Linked DNA regions of Homo sapiens: regions 2, 3 and 4 are each linked to region 1. Evidence: promoter capture Hi-C in 16 types of primary human blood cells and fetal thymus (Javierre and others, 2016). All regions are on one chromosome and are shown on one strand. The core of a region is centred on a gene start or on the middle of the fragment in contact, and the rest is flanking DNA. Distances in the headings are between cores, read along the strand shown.

The links. The method cuts DNA at HindIII sites, captures the fragments that hold promoters and counts their contacts. A CHiCAGO score of 5 or more calls a contact.
Region 2: a contact is called between a fragment that was not itself captured here and the fragment with the promoter of TTLL1-AS1 in region 1, in 1 of 17 cell types (neutrophils). The highest score is 6.8, in neutrophils.
Region 3: a fragment that was not itself captured here is called in contact with the fragment with the promoter of TTLL1-AS1 in region 1 in 1 of 17 cell types (neutrophils); the score reaches 10.6 in neutrophils.
Region 4: a contact is called between a fragment that was not itself captured here and the fragment with the promoter of TTLL1-AS1 in region 1, in 3 of 17 cell types (neutrophils, endothelial precursors and M1 macrophages). The highest score is 7.9, in neutrophils.

Annotation. Positions count from the first base shown.
Region 1 is chr22:43,035,697-43,040,627 of GRCh38, forward strand. It overlaps TTLL1-AS1 (TTLL1 antisense RNA 1), which reads left to right and starts at 2,889. Exons shown (of 3, transcript NR_125362.1): 1 at 2,889-4,568. TTLL1 (TTL family tubulin polyglutamylase complex subunit L1) reads right to left here. Exons shown (of 11, transcript NM_012263.5): 11 at 3,820-4,209. The coding sequence ends at 4,080. The HindIII fragment of the contact is 751 bases long and covers 2,235-2,985 here.
Region 2 is chr22:42,798,890-42,803,820 of GRCh38, forward strand. ARFGAP3 (ARF GTPase activating protein 3) reads right to left here. Exons shown (of 16, transcript NM_014570.5): 15 at 150-271. Among named protein-coding and RNA genes, the nearest start is that of ARFGAP3, 56 kb to the right of the region's middle. RefSeq lists an enhancer at 654-948. The HindIII fragment of the contact is 3,735 bases long and covers 902-4,636 here.
Region 3 is chr22:42,822,509-42,827,439 of GRCh38, forward strand. ARFGAP3 (ARF GTPase activating protein 3) reads right to left here. Exons shown (of 16, transcript NM_014570.5): 7 at 4,432-4,491; 8 at 1,148-1,194. Among named protein-coding and RNA genes, the nearest start is that of ARFGAP3, 32 kb to the right of the region's middle. The HindIII fragment of the contact is 3,142 bases long and covers 1,104-4,245 here.
Region 4 is chr22:42,839,670-42,844,600 of GRCh38, forward strand. ARFGAP3 (ARF GTPase activating protein 3) reads right to left here. Exons shown (of 16, transcript NM_014570.5): 3 at 1,275-1,347. Among named protein-coding and RNA genes, the nearest start is that of ARFGAP3, 15 kb to the right of the region's middle. The HindIII fragment of the contact is 407 bases long and covers 1,736-2,142 here.

The sequences.
Region 1 (4,931 bases), core at 1,639-4,138:
GCTGGTGGAGCGCAACCAGATGCGGGTCCAGACTGATGGGGTCTCCATGGCAGCCCAGGTGGGAGGCGGAGGAGGAGAAGGGAGACAGTGAGAAGGTTGTCACCAGGCCCTCACTAATACCCGGGGAGCAGCCCGTGTGCAAAGGAGGTGAAGGATGGTGGTTTTCTTTTGTTTGAGATGGAGTCTTGCTCAGTTGTCCAGGCTGGAGTGCAATGGTGCGATCTCGGCTCACTGCAACCTCCGCCTCCTGGGTTCAAGTGATTCTTCCGCCTCAGCCTCCCAAGTAGGTGGGATTACAGGCATGAACCACCAAGCCCAGCTAATGTTTGTATTTTTAGTAGAGACGGGGTTTCACCTTGTTGGCCAGGCTGGTCTCAAACTCCTGACCTCAGGTGATCCACCCACCTCAGCCTCCCAAAGTGCTGGGACTACAGGCGTGAGCTACTGTGCCCAGTCGAGGATGGGTTTATATTGGGAAAACCAAGCCTATCAAACTTGGTGAAAACGACCACAGGATGCAACCCTCTGGCCTGGGACCCACCCCATCAAGTGTGTGGGGGCTGACAAGAAAACAGCAACGGCTCCCGGACAGCTCCCAGCAGGGCTCACTGCTTAGCCCCAGCCTAGCGCTGAATGGGGCTGTTCCTGGCCCGACAGCCTCCCGAGGCCTGCTGCCAACACCGCACCCTTCCCACCCGTGTCCTGGAAGTGCTCAGAGGAAACATCTGCCCAGAACATGACATCACTAAATCATTAATGAGACAGTCACTATATGACATAAATCCACTTAGCAGAGCCTCACTCTCACCTAGCAACTGGGTCACCAGCAAACTAACCACTTGGTGTGACTCTTCCATTAGGACTGCGTGGCCCCGGAGCCTCAGAGGCCAACGTTCCCAACCAGGGACTCCACCCTTCTCCCAGAGGGAGGCAAAAACAACACAATGTAACTGAGAACCGGGTTGTAAAAACCGGTGGAAGAGCTGGGAACAGTTAACGGGGTGTCTTTCACTTCTGCGTGTAGGAGCCGAGGTGGAGCCGCCAGCTGTGCAGAGGACACCCCCTCCTGGGAGGTAAGAGGGCTCGCCAGAGCCAGCAAGGCGTGCGGGCAGGGTCCCTGTGCGGTGGTACTGGTTGTTTCTGAGGCAAACAGAACTCCCCCCCTTTTTTTTTTTGAGACGGAGTTTCGCTCTTATTGCCCAGGCTTGAGTGTAATGGCGCCATCTCGGCTCTCCGCAACCTCCGCCTCCTGGGTTCAAGCGATTCTCCTGCCTCAGCCTCCAGGCTAATTTTTGTATTTTTAGTAGAGATGAGGTTTCACCATGTTGGCCAAGCTGGTCTCGAACTCCTGACCTCAGATGATCCACCCTCCTCGGCCTCCCAAAGTGCTGGGATTACAGGCATGAGCCACTGCGCCCGGCCACAGAACTCCCCATTTTATACAGTGGGAAACAAAGGTGCAACGACCCCAGGGACAGGCTTGGGAAACAGCTAATAAACAGCAGAGCCAGGCCACAAGGCCAAGTCTGACTCGGGGATCTCCATCCCACACCCGCCATCAACAGCAAACACATTAAAACTAAACCCCACGGCTGGGCGCAGTGGCTCACACCTGTATTCCCAGCACTCTGGAAGGCTGAGGCAGGCGGATCACCTAAGGCTGGGAGTTTGAGACCAGCCTAGCCAACATGGTGAAGCCCCATCTCTACTAAAAATACAAAAATTAGCCGGGCATGGTGGTGTACACCTGTAATCCCAGCTACTTGGGAAGCTGAGGCACGAGAATCACTTCAACCCGGGAGGCAGAGATTGCAGTGAGCTGAGGTTGCGCCACTGCACTCCAGCCTGCTGGGCGACAGAGCGAGACTCTGTCTCAAAAACAAAACAAAACAAAACAAAACTTAAACACCAGGGAACACACACAACACACATACCAATAAGATCACGAAGAAGGAATGGCTGAAAAGCCCACCAATTGTAGTTTATTTGGAGTCCAGCCAAGTACCATTTGTGTTGAAAAGACCTATTTTTCCCTAATTGGCAGTGAAACATCATTAAATATATGTACTCATATACACACACACAATATGGCATGTACACTTGACACACGTCCATGCATGGGCACTGAGAGAGCCTGGGCAAGTCAGTTAAGACCCTTATCTGAAGGACATACCCTTGGTGCCATTTGGGAGAACAAACTCCTGTTACTAGCATTGCAACAAAAACAGGTGGCAAGCTTTAAAGATAAACTCAAGACAGCGAGTGAAACTTCAGCAAATACGTGTTAATACGACCATGAGTAAAAGGCCCTTCCTGGCCGGGCGCAGTGGCTCACGCCTGTAATTTCAGCACTTTGGGAGGCGGAGGCGGGAGGATCACCTGAGGTCAGGAGTTCGAGACCAGCCTGGCCAACATGGTGAAACCCCGTCTCCACTAAAAATACAAAAATTAGTTGGGCGTGGTGGCAGGCGCCTGTAAGCCCACCTCTTTGGGAGGCTGAGCCATGAGAATCGCCTGAACCCAGGAGGTGGAGGTTGCAGTGAGCCTAGATTGTGCCATTGCACTCCAGCCTGGGTGTCAAGAGTGAAACTCCACCTCAAAAAAAAAAAAAAAAAAAAAGACCCTTCCTAAGAACAGCACTGTAACTCATGAGTTATTACTCAAATGCATCTGTCCATCTACCCACCAACTCAGGTCCTCTCCATACACTCCTGTAAGTCACCGGGCTACCGGGAGACTGCATGGGAACAACCACGCTCGCGCAGCCTGTCCCGCAGCCATCGCTCCTCCCACAGCTCCTGGCTGCCCACGGCGCTTCCCTGTAGCAAACCCAGCTGCTGACGTCATAAAAGGCACACAGCCGGACCTGTCTGTGCTCATCTAGTTCCATTTACAACAGACTCATCCACAAAACCGAAGTGGTAGAAACAGGTCTTTTTGAAGCCAGGCGTGGTGGCTCATGCCTGTAATCCCAACACTTTGGGAAGCTTAGGCAGGAGTATCGCTTGAGCCCAGGAGTTCGAGAACAGCCTGGCCAACATGGTGAAACTCTGTCTCTACAAAAAAAACTTTAAAAAGTAGCTGGGGGTGGTGGTGTGTGCCTGTGTGGTCCCAGTTACTCGGGAGGCTGAGGTGAGCGGATCACTTGAGCCCAGGAAGTTGAGCCACAATGGCACCACGGCACTCCAGCCTGGGTGACAGGGCGAGATCCTGTCTGAAAAGAAAAAAAAAAAGAAAAGAGAAGAAAAGAAAAGAAAACAGGTCTTCCTGGGAGCACCTAGACAAAGGCCTTTGTAAAGATAAATTACCGAGGAATATTTCTAGTTGCCTGTTTTCTTCAAAATCACAGTCAAGTAAGCTGGGCGTGGTGGCTCACCTCTGTAATCCCAGCATTTTGGGAGGCCGAGGTGGGCAGATCACCTGAGGTCAGGAGTTTGAGACCAGCCTGCCCAACATGGTCAAAACCCCATCTCTACTAAAAATACAAAAATTAGCCAGGTGTGGTGGCACACGCCTGTAATCCCAGCTACTTGGGAGCCTGAGGTGGGAGAAATACTACCCAGGAGGCAGAGGTTGCAGTGAGCCAAGATTGTGCCAGTGCACTCCAGCCTGGGCGACAGAGCAAAACTCTGTCTCGGGAAAAAAAAAAAAAATCGCAGTCAAGTAAAAAGAAACGCAACTAAAAGAGCCGTCAGTTAAATACATTCCTCTCTCGTGGCAGGACGAGTCTATAAGATTTGTTTTGTTTTTAATTTAGTGTAAAGTTTTTTTAATGTTTAAACCTTGTGACACATCAAATTACATGCTTGAAGCTGTTACTTTCTGTCAAAAAAGTGAGTTTTTAATATGAAAATTCTGCTTAGGTTAAAAATTAAAAAAAAAAGAGCGAGTTTTATACATCCGCATGAATTGTTTCCTTTAGCACTAGTCAAACAGACTCCATAACCTTCCAAAGAAGTGCCTTCGTTTATTTACAGGGCTTAGGAAAGGAAAAAAGCTCTACAAAAGGGAAATTTCAAAATAGGGCTTCAGCAGGGGCCCAGGTGGAGTGAGTAGTTTTGATAAGGTCCAGGTGGGACTCACTTCCAGGTGGTGAGGACCGCTCTCCCCGAGTCTCTCGATCGGCCTGCTCTGGGCCCCAGAGACTGACCCTGACGGCTTCTCAGCTCCCGGTCAGCCCCGTCACCCTGGGCCAATTCTTCATCATACCTGGAGACAGAAACAGCCAGGATCACGGCAGGCTCTCTTTCAAAGGCAACAGGCAGGGCCACCAGGCTGCTGTGTGGCAAATATGACATCACCCAGAGAAGCGGCCTGAGGGGGCCCCACCCTCGCGACTCCTGCTGGCTCCCGCCCACCTCCCACCTGGCTCCAGCCCACCTGCCTGCCAGGTGGCTCTCGCAGCCCAGCAAATGCTCCCCAAGGCCAGCCTGCCTATGTGTACAACCTTGTTGTTATTGTGGACAGTGGTCTCCCCTCGGAAGCTGACATTTTATACAGGTCACCAGGTCAAATATGGCAATGACTCCAAAGGCAACATGCATGAGGTGACACAGAACCAGCCCAGGGTAAGTGAGGTGAGACTGCCTGGCTGGAAACGCTTCACACAAGGCACCTGCAGGCTGGGGGGACTAACTCCATTCCAGATGGGAGTGGTACATGAGCACTGGTCAGTGGAGGCCAGGGCAGAGAGGCCCCACGGTGCACACTCAGCTAGAGACTCTGCCAGTGTGACCCACGCCACCCCTCCCCATTTTCTTTTTTTTTGAGATGGAGTTTCACTCTATCACCAAGGCTGGTATACAGTGGCGCAATCTTGGCTCACTACAACCTCCACCTCCCTGGTTCAAGCGATTCTCCTGCCTCAGCCTTTCAGGTAGCTGGGATCATAGGTGCCCACCACCACACCCAGCAAATTTTTGTATTTTTAG
Region 2 (4,931 bases), core at 1,519-4,018, 240 kb before region 1:
TTCATAATGTTCTGGGTTATAGTGTAGCAAACATATCGATCCAATAATATATAATTGAATTTTCCAGCAGTTGAAGATTGAAGCAGGTCTCATTTTCAAACTGCTGAACCTACCGTCATAGCCAGTGAGCACTGCCCCATTCCACTGACCTGAATTGAAGTCACGACTCCATTAGCAAAGACGGAGAGTTTTCCAGCAACCGATCTCACTCCCTGCTTGAACTGCGCCATGTCGGGGGCGTTGGGCAGCACACTGGACAGGCTGTAGTTCCCTGCACACACACAGCAGACACTGTCTCATCACTGCCCTGGCCACAGCTGCGGCAAACCCAGTACCCAGAGTGCTCAACGGCTCCAGAGAACCCGGATCTCTCCCCTCCTGCTGCCTCACAAGGGGCCCAACAGTGGGATGGAGACTCGGGCTGAAGTGGCAGCCCTGCCATGATCCACATGAGAGAATCCACACGACAGAAAATGTAGTATGGGGGACTTAACACCACTATGAGTTCAAATCCTGGCACTGTCACTTCTAGGCTGTGTGCCTCTAGAGAAGTTCCTTGCTCTCTCTGGGCCCATTTCCTCAAGGTGCTTAACATAGCCCTGGCAGGTAAGTACCCAGCAAAAGGCAGATGGGCCAACACGGATGGCCTGTTTCTCATCACCTCCTCCCTCTTTTGGTAACAGTACTCCTCCCTTCCTCCAGGAACCACCTCTCCCTTCTACCCTGTCCACAGGCATGGGCACATGACCCAGGCCTGACCAATCAGAGCCTTCCCAGGGATTCATGTATCCTCAAATGAGAAGAGCCATTTGCTTGCTCTGGGGTTATTGGCAGGGACAAAGCAAAGCAGCAGCCATCTGTGACTACGACTGCCCCTCCCACTCGCTTGGGGTATGGAGGAAGCTTGTTACCTCCCCCAAGGAGGTGAGCCAAATAGATGCATCACTGATGCTGTCTGACTGTGACTTAGAAGCCAAGCTCCACTGCCAGTCTTCCCAGGTACAGAAGTTCACACTTCCACCCTCTTTGCTAGGGCCGGTGTTAGTGGCCCTAAGTTTTGTTAGTTGTTAGTTTTGTTAAGTGTTAGTTGCTTAAGTTTTGGTTGCCCTGATGTAAACATCACCATAATTGCTACCAATCTGGGTGAAGTTCATCAGGGTTATCACACATCAAGGAGGTCTGACCACACTCCTAGAGCTGACAATCAGGGGTTCATAAACTTCTGTGTCACAATTGTAATAAGACGCTGGAGGGGCTCAGTGAGCTCAACACAAACCCTGCAGGTCCTCAGGAGTAGCCACGCCCAGCTACTCCCTAAGCCCCACATGACACCACCTGCTCCTTACAAAACAGAAACCCACCAGACGCAGTGGCTCACGCCTGTAATCCCAGCACTCTGGGAGGCTGAGGTGGGAGGATCACTTGAGGTCAGGAGTTCAAGACCAGCCTGGCCAACATGGTGAAACCCCATCTCTACTAAAAATACAAAAAATTAGCTGGGCATGGTGGCACACACCTGTAACCCTAGCTACTTGGGAGGCTGAGGCAGGAGAATCACTTGAACCTGGGAGGTGGAGGTTGCAGTGAGCCAAGACTGTGCCACCCCACTCCAGCCTGGGTGACAGAGCGAGACCCCATCTCAAAAACAAAAACAGAAAGCCTTGGTCAAGTCCCTCTCTGAGAATAAAACAGAACTGACAAGTTACCCTGCAACGTGTCCCTTGGAAGAGACACTGCATTTGCCCCCAGCACTGTTCCCATGCCCACCACAGATGCAGGTCCTCCCATCTCCACCTCCAGCTGACTGTCTAAAATCTTGTAGGCCTTCACCAATGACAGAGTGTAATTCCAACACAGTGATGGGACTGGGGTGCTGTGTCTCCTCTGAGGGCTGCCTGGGCAGGCTGGAGGGGCCGGGTGGCCATGGTCAAAGACAGCCCTAGTGTGCTCAGGTTACACAATGAGCTCCAGGAAATGACAGTTCCAGCCACCTGCTCAGGAAGAGCGTCCTTGACCCAGGGAATCTCTCCTCCCTATCTTTTCCCAGAACACCCACAGTGTGTACTGAGGACACAGCTACAGACCTGCTTTTCCACAGCTCACCACCTACTGGGGAAAGCAGACAATTAACTGATAACATCACTAAAGTGTGACCTGTGTCATCTGGAGGGGACACAGAGCAAACTCAGGTAGACAGCTGGGAGGTGGCTGCAGGGGTCCAGGTGCATGGGGCGGTGCCTGAGCATGAGGAGGCGGCAGTGGGGATCAGGAGGGAACGGGCTGAGCGTCCTCAGGAGGCAGGTGTCAAGAGGCACACTGACTGACTGGCCTAGGCAGGCTGAGAGGCAGGCGGATTAAGGATGTTTCCCAGGTTTCTGCTTGGGCAGCCAGGAAGAAGACAGCTGCTCCCCTCTCTGAGACAGAGGGGACACTGAGCTACACAGTGGTCTGTGGTTGGGGCAAATGCCCTGGATGGGTCAGGACAGGCCAGGTGACTCTGAGCTAACAACCACCCACAACTGATGTTTGCTGTGCCCAGTGCAGGTGGGCAGGGGGTTCTGTGCATCACAGTCACTTGCGGTCCAAGCCCATGGGGCCACCTCTTAATTCCAGCTTCCTTGCCTACTATGACAGGGAAAGAAACATGGCAACATGCGCACAGCTCTTAAGGCTTGTGCTGGAGGCGGAACACATCGCCCCTGCAGCCTGGCACTGGCCATGGGACATGGGAGGTAGGGGGAGGCGTGTTCCAGCCTATGTTGGCCGGTGGGCAGGTGCTCAGACTCAGCAAGCTCCTTGGGGTCATTCATCACCCCTCCACCCATTCATCCTCAAACACCTGCAGAGGGCTTCCTCTGCCAGGCTGTCAGGCGCCAAGGGCACAGAAATGAGAACTGACAGTCCACTGGGGGAGACGGTCTTCGCATGGTCTTGCCCTCAGTGTAAGGCACAAGAGTGGTGCAAGGGGGCCTAACCAGGCCCCCAGGGTAAATACGGGTTGCGGGGCTGTCTGGGGGAATGGGGAAGAAGAGCATTCTGGGCTGGGGGCTCCACAGGCTCAACACAGCTGGAGTGAGCCACAACAGTGAATCACGAGAAATGAGGCTGGAAAGGCCAGTGGGAACCATGGTCCTGGAGGTGGGCATTGGGTGGGGAGCTGTGCTTCAAGCTGAGGGCAGGATTTTCAGCACAGATGACTGTGTTCTGAAAGATCCCTGTGGGAAGAGTGAGGAGAGGGGTGAGCAGCAGCCAAGACTGGAGGCAGGAGGACCAAGCAGCGGGTTGTGGCCACGTTTCAGGTCTGGAGTCACCCAGGAGAGATTCTGATCATATGGGTCTATGGTGTGACGTGGGAGGTGGAAGTTTCCAGGACAACTCCCAGGCTCCTCAAAATAACAATTTTTTTTTTTTTTTGAGACAGAGTCTCGCTGTGTCACCCAGACTGGAGTGTAGTGGCGCGATCTTAGCTCACTGCAAGCTCCGCCTCCCAGGTTCACGCCATTCTCCTGCCTCAGCCTCTGGAGTAGCTGGGACTACAGGTGCCCGCCACCACGCCCAGATAATTTTTTTTTTTTTGTATTTTTTAGTAGAGATGGGGTTTCACCGTGTTAGCCAGGATGGTCTCAATCTCCTGACCTTGTGATCCACCCGCCTCAGCCTCCCAAAGTGCTGGGATTACAGGCGAGAGCCACCGCGCCTGGCCCAAAATAAGAATTTTTTTTTTTTTTTTGAGATGGAGTCTTGCTCTGTTGCCCAGGCTGGAGTGCAGTGGTGCGATCTCGGCTCACTGCAAGCTCCACCTCCCAGGTTCACGCCATTCTCCTGCCTCAGCCTCCCGAGTTGCTGGGACTACAGGCGCCCACCACCATGCCTGGCTAATTTTTTGTATTTTTAGTAGAGATGTGGTTTCACCATGTTAGCCAGGATGGTCTCGATCTCCTGACCCGTGATCTGCCCGCCTCGGCCTCCCAAAGTGCTGGGATTACAGGCGTGAGCCACCACACCTGGCCCAAAATAAGAATTTTTAATAGAATACCACGTATTAATTTCTCTGCTTCATGCAGACAAATGAAGAGAAAAAGTATTTCCAAGATTATAAGAACAAGTTTGGGCATTGTTTGTTTGAGACAGGGACTCCCTCTGTTGCCCGGGCTGGAGTACAGTGGTGTGATCACAGCTGACTGCAGCCTCAATCTTTTGGGTTCAAGTGATCCTCCTGCCTTAGCCTCCGAGTAATTGGAACTATAGGCATTAGCCATCGCACCTAGCTAATTTTTTTATTTTTTAAATTTTTTGTAGAGATGGGGGTCCCACTATGTTGTCCAGGCTGGTCTGGAACTCCTGGGGCCACTGCACAGCTATACTGTCTGACAAGCACACATGGCAATAACCAAACCAGACTGCCTGATGCAGACTGAGGGCAGTGCTTTCGAGGTCACACTCCTAGACCCTGGGCTGGAGCAAAGAGAAAAGGAGACAGTGGTTAAGGGACCTCACAAACAACCTACCACTTGACCCCACGATGCACACAAGGAAGGGGTGCAGGTGTCTGCACTCCCATGCAGACGTGCTCTCATTCAAACAATCAGAATTGGCTTTCTGGGAGGAAACATGCTGAGGGGGCAGCTGGGTTTTAAGCTTTTTGTTGTATCCTGGCTCTCACACAGCTGCCTCCACTCTGTCATCTGGTGTCTGAGTGCCTCACGCCTGCCTGAGGCAGTGCCCAGCTGATGGCAGTCCCCCAGCTCTAATGACCCTGTCCCATGGGTGTGACCACAGGGACTGTTGCTGTGCCAGGTCAGGTTGGCTGCAGGCACTTACATGCGCTTCCCACTCAATCCTTCAGCTACAGTGAAAGAGAGTGCCCGTAAGAACGGCCGCAGGTCTCCTGGGCTAGAAACACCCCCAGAAAGCAGCTTACCTCACCAGAA
Region 3 (4,931 bases), core at 1,425-3,924, 210 kb before region 1:
CAAGCACTCTACATTTGTTCTGTGGCTTAGTCCTCAGAACTCTGTGAAGTTAGTATTATTCCAGGAGTCCCTCAGCATGGGGGAATTGGTTTCACGACCCTGTGGATAACAAAATCTGCGATGATCAAGTCCCTTACGTAAAAGGGCGTAGTATCTGCATTTAACCCACGTGTAGCCTCCAGTATACTTTCAATCATCTCTAGATTACTTATTATGCCTAAATAATGTAAATGCTATGAAAATAGTTACTAATTCTGTGTTTTTATTTGTATTGTTTTTACTGTTGTATTCTTACTTTTTATTTTTTTTTACTTTTTTTGAGACAGGCTCTCATGCTGTTGACCAAGCTGGAGTACAGTGGCACAATCTCAGCTCACTGCAACCTCTGCCTCCTGGGGTAAAGCGATCCTCCCACCTTAGTATCCCGAGTAGCTGGGACTACAGGCACGGGCCACCAAATCCGGCTACTTTTTGTATTTTTTGAAGAGATGGGATTTCACCATTTTGCCCAGGCTGGTCTTGAACTCCGGGGCTCAAGTGATCCACCTGCCTCGGCCTCCCAAAGTGCTGGGATTACAGGCGTGAGTCACTACGCCTGGCCTATTGTTTTTTTTTCCCCCCCAAATAATTTTGATCTGCAATTGGTTGAATCCATGGATGCAGAACCCCTGGATACAGAGGGCTGAGGAAAGTAAAGCTCATATAAGTTAAGGAATGTGGCCAAGGTCACACAGCCAATACATGGCAAGGCCAGGATTCAAACCCTGCACCTGCCTCCAGAGCTGGTGCTCCGCAATGCTTCGCTGTATCTGAAAACTCACCAGACAACCACCCTCTAAGCCTCACAAGATGTCATTGCTTATTGATCTACACAAGCAGGAGACAAATTCCCAGGGGACCTTTGTTAATTTTTTTCAGAATTTTGTCATAGACAGAAAAAATGTTAAATAATCATTCTAGAAAAAATTCAATAAGTATAACATTAATCTCTTTGACATTAATCTCTTTGAACAAAACATAGACTCCTTATATCAAAGCTACATTTATTACAAGATGGTTCAAAAGAATAAAACTAAAATGACGAAGCGGCTTTTTAGTTTTAAAGCTTAACTACCAGATTTTTATATATAAAGTACATAATACTCACGCCTTTTTTAGCTTGATTTGGTTTCTTTTTTATGATAGAGGATACCTCTGCCAAAAAATAAAAATTAAAAAGTAAGACCAATAGAAATAATTTTTCTTTTTTAGTGTGTCTTTTAAAATTCTAAGATACTGCACTTTATTATTTAAGAGATGATAACATTTTCCACTTTAGTTTCTCATCCAGAAGACTCAAGTTGATAAGCATATTTTGGATTAACAGAACTTTGTCAAAATGGTGTCCTCAGTATTTCCACGCAGTCTCCAAACTCAGAGAAAATGTATTTTTTTTTTTAACAGCACACTGAAGAGAAATAGAGCCTGAGCTTGCCCCTCTCAGTACTTTCTTCAGGAGCATTTAAAAAATATATTACAACAACTTTTTTTTTTTTTTTGAGACAGGGTCTCGCTCTGTCACCTTAGCTGAGTGCAGTGGCATTACCTCCCAGATCAAGGGAGCCTTCCACTTCAGCCTCCTGAGTAGTTGGGATCACAGGTGCGCACCACCACATCTGGCTATTTTTTTTTTTTTTTTTTTTTTTTTTTAGAGATGGGTGTCTTGCTATGTTGCCCAGACTGGTCTTGGACTCCTGGGCTCAAGTGATGCTCCTGCCTCAGCCTCTCAAAGTGCTGAAATTATGAGTATGAGCCACCATGCCACAACTCTTTTATCAAGTGCTACTCTTCAAAAACTTTAAAACACTTAAAAATCTAACAATTTTTTAGAGATGGTCTCACTCCATTACCTAGGCTGGAGTGTAGTAGTGTGATCAGAGCTCACTGCAGCATTGAACTCCTGTATTCAAGTGATCCTCTCGTCTCAGCCTCCCTAGTAGCTGGGACTACAGGCATATGCCACCATGCCTGGTTTTCTTTCTTTTTTTTTTTTTTGTAGACATCAGGGGAGCTCACTATGTTGCCCAGTCTGGTCTTGAACTCCTGGCCTCAAGTGATCCTCCTGCCTTGGCTTTCTAAAGTGCTGGGATTACAGGTATGAACTATCATGCCCAGCCCAAAAACTTTAAAAATCATTATAATTTTCCATTTTTATTTTAGATTCAGGGAGTACACGTGCAGTTTTGTTACAAGGGTATATTGCGTGGTGCTGAGGTTTGGGCTTCTCTTGATCCCATCACCCAGACAGTGAGCACAGTATCCAACAGGAAGTGTTTCAGCTCTTGTTCCCCTCTCTCCCTCCCTCCTTTTGGAGTCCTCAGTGTCTACTCTTCCCATCTTTATGTTCGTATGAACCCAAGATTTAGCCCCCACTTATAAGTGAAAACATGTGATATTTGGTTTTGTTTCTGCATTAGTTTGTTTACGATAATGGCCTCCAGCCATGTTGCTGCAAAGGACATGACTGTTCTTTTTTACGGCTGCATAAAACTTATTTGAAAATATAAAGTTCGCAGCCTGGACAACATAGGGAGACTCCATCTCCACAAACAAACAAACAAAAAACATTAGTCCAGTGTGATGGCGTGCGCCTGTGGTCCCAGCTACTTGGGAGGCTGAGGTAGGAGAATCTCTTGGGCCAGGCTGCAGTGAACTGTGATTGCACCCACTGCACTCCAGCATGGGCAATAAAGCGAGACTCTAGCTCAAAAAAGTAATAACAATAATAAAAATAAAGTTAGCTAGGCATTATGTATACAACTAAAGCAGCCAGTGACGTGCTTTTTCACCTTGGCTTATATATAGATTTTATCATATTAGCCAAAATAAATATAAAGCATCCTCGGCCAGGCATGGTGGCTCATGCCTGTAATCCCAGCACTTTGGGAGGCCAAGGCGGGCAGATCACCTGAGGTCAGGAGTTTGAGAACAGCCTGGACAATATGGTGAAACCCCGTCTCCACTAAAAATACAAAAAGTTTGCTGGGCATGGTGGCACACACCTGTAATCCCAGCTACTTGGGAGGCTGAGGCACGAGAATCGCTTGAACCCAGGAGGCACCGGGAGGCAGAGGTTGCAGTGAGCTGAGATCGTGCCAGTGTACTCCAGCCTGGGTGACAGAGTGAGACTCTGTCTCCAAAAAAAAAAAAAAAAGAAACATAAAGCATTCTCTTATTTTAATAACAATACTTTCTAAATTGCACAAAAATACTTTTAGAGAAAGTTTCTTAAAAATCATTTTCTGAGTACATTTTACTTATAGGTTATATATTGTCTTTAGAATTATGTCTAAGAAACCCAGCAAAATTAAAGTCTTAATTTTTTCATATAAAGATAAGAATGTGCTTTGATAGGAAAAGATAGCATAAAGCCAGAAACAGCAAAAGATAACAATCTTTAGCCGTGAGTAGAGAATAACGTCATTACATTTCAAGTGTGAAAAAGATGCTTGTGGGAGTTTTCCTTTTCATTACTTTCTTTCAGATTTGTATTGTAGTAGTCACATAACCTGCTCCCAAACTCTGACGAGTCTAAAACATGATGAAAATGTCAGGAGCATTTCTAACAGTTTAGTTATTTTTCACCAAAGCAGCTGCTTTCCAACTAATGCAATGGAATATATAACAATTACAAATTATAATTCCTTGATAATGAAAAATTTAAGATTAAGTTCACCTATAATAAAATCAGAAAGAGAAGAAAATGAGTTCTTGAGTAAAAAGGAATGGTGTAGATGTTCTGACCACTGCTTATTTCCGTAAGGTGAGCCAGCCCAACATAAACCCACGAATCAAAACCATCAGCAGCCATATTGGCTAAATGTGCACATTGCTGCTTTTTTTTTTTTTTGAGACAAGGTATCACTCTGTCACCCAGGGCAGAGTGCAGTGGTGTGATCATGGCTCACTGCAGCCTCAACCTCCCAGGCTCAAGTGATCCTCCTGCCTCAGTCTCCCAAGTAGCTGGGACTACAGATGTGTGCCACCACACTCAGGTAATTTTTGTTGTTGTTGTTGTTGTTGTTGTTGTTTTGTAGAGCTAAGGTTTCGCTGTGTTGCCCAAGCTGGTCTCGAACTCCTGGGCTCAAGCGATCTGACCACCTCGGCTTCATAAAGCGTTAGGATTACAGGTGTGAGCCACTGCCCCCAGCCACAATGCTGCATTTTATATTATCAAGCTGGTTAAAATGTAGCATCTTTGTTGGAAGCTTGAGAGATGAATAAAAAACATATATATATAGTATCTTTTGTTTAATAAAATCTTATTAACAGATTCGGTCATGATTATATTACTCCGTCAGGTGAGATGCCCAGGCCAAATGCAAGAGGATTTATTTTTTTCTTAATGAGTCATACACTTTAAATCAGAATGTAGGATTTTAAGCATATTACCTAAAGTAGCCTTTGTTGGTACATTAAGACCTTCCACACTTGGTCCTTGCTCTTGTCCACCTGAAAATTCAAAACATTGATATTAGCGCAGAAAATATACTCAGCTAACTTGCTTTTGAATATATAATAATTCAACTTGCTCAGTGCTACATCTTATCCAATTTTGTCAATGATCACCTACCTTTTTAGCTGTATATTCTATTTTAACGTTATAAGAATTTTGACTTAAAAGTCCATTAAAGTAGAAGTTTATTTTTAATCCAATGGCTTTATCAAATAAAAATGTTAGTGGTCTCTTCAACTAATACGATTCAAAATTCTACCTTATGATCTGGTGATTTAATGTGACCTGTCAAAAGATACTTACTACCTCTGTGGACTATACATACCCAATGTATGTTAATATGTGGAAATCCTTGTTTTGTTTTGTTTTTTTTTCTTTTGGAGACAGAATTTCACTCTTCTTACCCAAGCTGGAGTGCAATGGCACGATCTCGGCT
Region 4 (4,931 bases), core at 689-3,188, 200 kb before region 1:
ATTCCATCCTAACCACAAAAGTCACCCCAGTTATTAAAAAACTATTATCATAAAGAAGCCTCCAGTTTCTCTGTACCCTCACTTCCTGTTTTAATTTTCTTAAAGCACTTATCACTGCCTGTTATTTTCCTGTGAACATATTTCTTTGATTACTCTCTGACTGCCCCTGTCTATAAGAGGGGATCTTGATTATTTTTATTTATAATAAAATATCCCCTATAAGAGGGGATATTGGTTATTTTAATTTATTATTTTGATAATCTATCAACTCACTCTATCTATCACTGATCTCACTCTATCAACCAGGCTGGAGCACAATGGTGCGATCTCAGCTCACTGCAACCTCTACCTCCCAGGCTCAAGAGATCCTCCCACCTCAGCCTCCCGAGTAGCTGGGACTACAGGTATGCACCACCATGATTTGCTAATTTTTGCATTTTTTGCAGAAACGGAGTTTTGTCATGTTGTCCAGGTCAGTCTTACATTCATGGGCTCAAGGCGATCTGCCTGCCTCAGCCTCCCAAAGTTCTAGGATTACAAGCATGAGCCACCGTGCCCAGCTGGGGATCTTGTTTGTCTTGTCTGTCACTATATCCCCAGCAGCTAGCCAACGCTTCCTGTTTATTAGGTGTTTAACAGATTTTTGAATAAACAAGTCAACTGGGTCTGTCCAACTCCAAAACCCATCAGGCTCTCTGCTTCTTCTCATAGGGCCTCCCAAACTTTCAAGTATTGAACTCTTTTTGTTTGTTTGTTTGTTTTTTTGGGATGGAGTCTCGCTCTGTCACCCAGGCTGGAGTGCAGTGGTGTGATCTCGGCTCACTGCAACCTCTGCCTCCCAGGTTCATGCAACTCTCCCGCCTCAGCCTCCCGAGTAGCTGGGATTACAGGTGTGCACCACCATACCCAGCTAATTTTTGTTATTATTATTTTTTTTTTAGTAGAGATGGGGTTCCACCATGTTGGCCAGGCTGGTCTCGAACTCTTGACCTCAAGTGATCCGCCCGCCTCAGCCTCCCAAAGTGTTGGGATTACAGGCGTGAGACACCACACCTGACTTGTTTGTTTTTTATAAACAGAGGGTCTTGCCATGTTGCCCAGGGTGGTCTTGAACTCCTGGGCTCCAGTGATCCTCCCAAACGCCTGTAATTTCAGCCTCCCAAATGGCTGAGATTACAGGCATGAGCCACTGCACCTAGCCTGAGCTTCTTTACTATTATAGCATAACAAATATTTAAACAAGAAGGAAAATGACGAGTTTGAGATGAACTTACTGCACTAGCGTTTCCTCCGACTTGCATGCATCGCAACTGAAACCATGACCAGTTGGAATCCAACTCTGTAGATCTAAATGGAAAGAATATTACTAACTGTTAATATTTTTTATCCCCAGGAGCAAAATCAGTGAGCTTTTGAGAACAAGGTTTCCTTAGGCTTTAGGATCCTAAAGAATTCTAAGTTTGTGTCAACAAGGACCCACACTTTTGGGATGCTAGGACTCCAGAGTGGATGATGGTTGGCGTGAGCAACCCCTGGCTCCTCTCGTCCTTCCTGGAATGCAGGGCACAGGGACATGACAAGTGTCAGCGGGCTGCTGGAACGACACCAACTCTTTGCCTCCCATCCTTGGTTGGATATGATTTGAAATTTGGTAATGTGTCTCTACTTGAAACAGATGCACTGTTTGGATGTTTTCAGGTCGGTGATCTACTTGTCCAGTTTGATCGCTACCAGAAGCTTGGAGGATGCTCATTCTCTTATCACAAGGTAGAAGAGACCTACCCAACATCACGACCAGCAGAGAGAGGAAAAAACACAAGATTTCATGCTCCTGAAGTGAAAGCTACAAGCACTTCCTGCCCCTTCCACACCTTATGCCTAACTTCTCTCCACTGTAAGATCAAATCTGAAACAAGTAAAGGCAGTGAGTATAGCCTCAACAATGCACATTCCCCAAGGGGTCGACGGTAAAGCAACAATGTTAGAATCTTTATACTGAATCCACAGAAATGAGCAAAAAGCAGAGGTTGTTATTCAGTAATAGCTTGCCCTACACTAACTGTAAAGGAATGTGGATATTTTAGAATGAGTATAGGCAGAATACCTTTTACAAAATGGGCAAGGAAGAAAGAAAAGAAAAGAAGCTTTAGGTCCACCAAAACTTTCCTTTGTGCTGCCCTTATATTTACTAATTTCTTTTTTTTTTTTTTTTGAGACAGGGTCTCACTCCATCACCCAGGAATGGAGTGGTGTGATCACAGCTCATTGCAGCCTCAACCAGGATTGCTCAAGCAATCCTCCTGTCTCAACCTCCCAAGTAGATGGTAGCTACCATGCCGGGCTTTTTTTTTTTTTTTTTTTTTGAGACGGAGTTGCCCCGGCTGGAGTGCAATGGTGCGATCTTGACTCACCGCAACCTCTGCCTCCTGGGTTCAAGTGATTCTCCTGCCTCAGCCTCCTGGGTAGCTGGGATAACAGGCAGGTGTCACTACGCCCGGCTAATTTTTGTATTTTTAGCAGAGACAGGGTTTCTTCATGTTGGTCAGGTTGGTCTCAAACTCCCGACCTTAGGTGATCCACCCACCTTGGCCTCCCAAAGTACTGTGATTACAGGCATGAGCCACCGTGCCTGGCCTTTTTTTTTTTTTTTTTTTTTTAAATAGAGATAGGGTCTTGTTATGTTGCCCAAGATGGTCTAGAACTCCTGGGCTCAGGCAATCCTCCCACCTCAGCCTCTCAGTGTTGGGATTACAGGTGTGAGCCACCATGCCCAGTGAACCATACCTTTTTTTTTTTGAGACACAGCCTCGTTCTGTTGCCCAGGCTAGAGTGCAGTGAGGCGATCTCAGCTCATGGTAATCTCTGCCTTCTGGATTCAAGCAATTCTTGTGCCCCAGCCTCCAGAGGTAGCTGGGATTAGAGGCGTGCGGAACCACACCTGGCTAATTTTCGTAATTTTAGTAGAGACGGGGTTTTGCCATGTTCGCCAGGCTAGTCTCGAACTCCTGGCCTCAAGCAATCCCCTCATCTCAGCCTCCCAAAGTGCATACCATTATTAATCTAGAGTTTTACTTATAGACAATCTCAGTAATTTCCCAGCCGCCCTTTGTTTATAACTTGTTTGATTACCTCTATAAGGTCATAAAAAGCGTTGCCTTTCTACGCCAACATCATAAAAAGGTTCTCCCCAGTGTCCACCGAGCAGGAGCCCAGATTCTGCCCTGGTCATCATCAACATGTTCTAGGGCTCACTATGTGCCAGGCTGTATGGGGCTCTCTTGCTCGCTCCTGCCAACACCCTGTACGGCAGGTCCTAGTATTCTCACCCTCACTTTCAAGAGAAGGAAAGCAAGACATTCAGAGGTAAGGAACACACCCAAGGCCAGGAAAGGACAGCTCAGATTTGCCTCCCCCCGACCCCCCAACCACATCCCCGCTCCTGCATCCTCAGCCTCGGTCCTCACCTCTTCCTGATGCTGTCTCCTGCTCTGCCCAGGCTGAGTCAGCCTCCCCACATGCCTCACCCCTCCAGGGCCTCAGGAGTGAACTTTTAGCTCCCAGTGTGGCAGCTAAAGCGCTCCACAATATGACACAGATCCTCTCCTTTCACCCTTACTTCTCTTTATTTTCCTATGCATACAAAAAGTCGCTACAAAGCATTTCGCTTTTTCCTGCTTTTATATCTGAAGGTCCGAGTGCTGACCTCAATTTTCCCTCCCTTGTCTCCATTATCTTTTTTTGTTGTCGTAGAGATGAGGTCTCACTATGTTGCCCAGGTTGGTCTTAAACTCCTGGGCTCAAGCTATCCTCCCACCCCGGCCTCCCAAGTGCTGGGATTACAGGCGCAAGCCACCATGCCCGGCCTTGTCTCCATTATCAAAACCTCACCAAACCTTCCAAGTTCATTGCAAATGTTACCTCTTTTAAACTTTGCCTTATTTTCCAACCAGAAGTGGGCACAGGACTTAGTTTCCATCTCTCATGCATAACTTTGCAGTCTATCTTCTTATTTACGTTGTATTTAAGCCTGTCCCTAACCCCAGGCCAACAAGATCGATGCAGGGATCCCATTCACCTTTAATAAGCTCATGAAATACGTAACGGCAAACTTGAGAAAAAACAGAGCTAGAGGGGAGGAGCAGCCTGAAACATGGAGATCCCAGCAATGGAGGTGAAAAGGGGCAGAGGTCAGTTCAATCTGGTCCACTCTGGGAGCAGTCAGCAACCAATGCAGTTTGCCCTCTCCATATACTCTTAATCTGCCTTCCCCCCTTTGCTTGGCAAAAGCCATAACTTATAAATTATTTTTCCTCTGTAAATTTGTTGACTTGAAATTCTAGTTAAAGAAAAAAAACTCCAGTTAAATATGCACACCACCCATGCCACACAGGAAGCAGTGCATGTGTGTGTGTCTGGCAGTGGGAGGGGAAGAAGAGGGGAAAAGTATTCTAGAGGAGAGACTTTATATATTTTGGGGCTGCTTGGATTTTTTCCCAATTAGCTAGTGGTTTTTTTTGTTTCTTTTTTTGGTGGTGGTTGTTGTTGTTTTTTGAGTCAGGGTCTTTGTTCTGTCACCCAGACTGAAGTGAAGTGGTGAGATCATAGCTCACTGCAGCCTCAAACTCCCATGCTCGGCTAGGTGCTGTGGCTCATGCCTGTAAACCCAGCACTTTGGGAAGCTGAGGTGGGTGGATCACATGAGGTCAGGAGTTCAAGACCAGCCTGGCCAACATGGTGAAACCCCGTCTCTAGTAAAAATACAAAAATTAGCTGGGTGTGGTGGCACACACCTGTAATCCCAGCTACTTCGGAGGCTGAAGCAGGAGAATTGCTTGAACCCGGGAGGCGGAGGTTGCAGTGAGCTGAGATCATGCCATTGCACTCCAGCCGAGGGGATAGAGTGAGACTCTGTCTCAAAGGAAAAAAAAAAA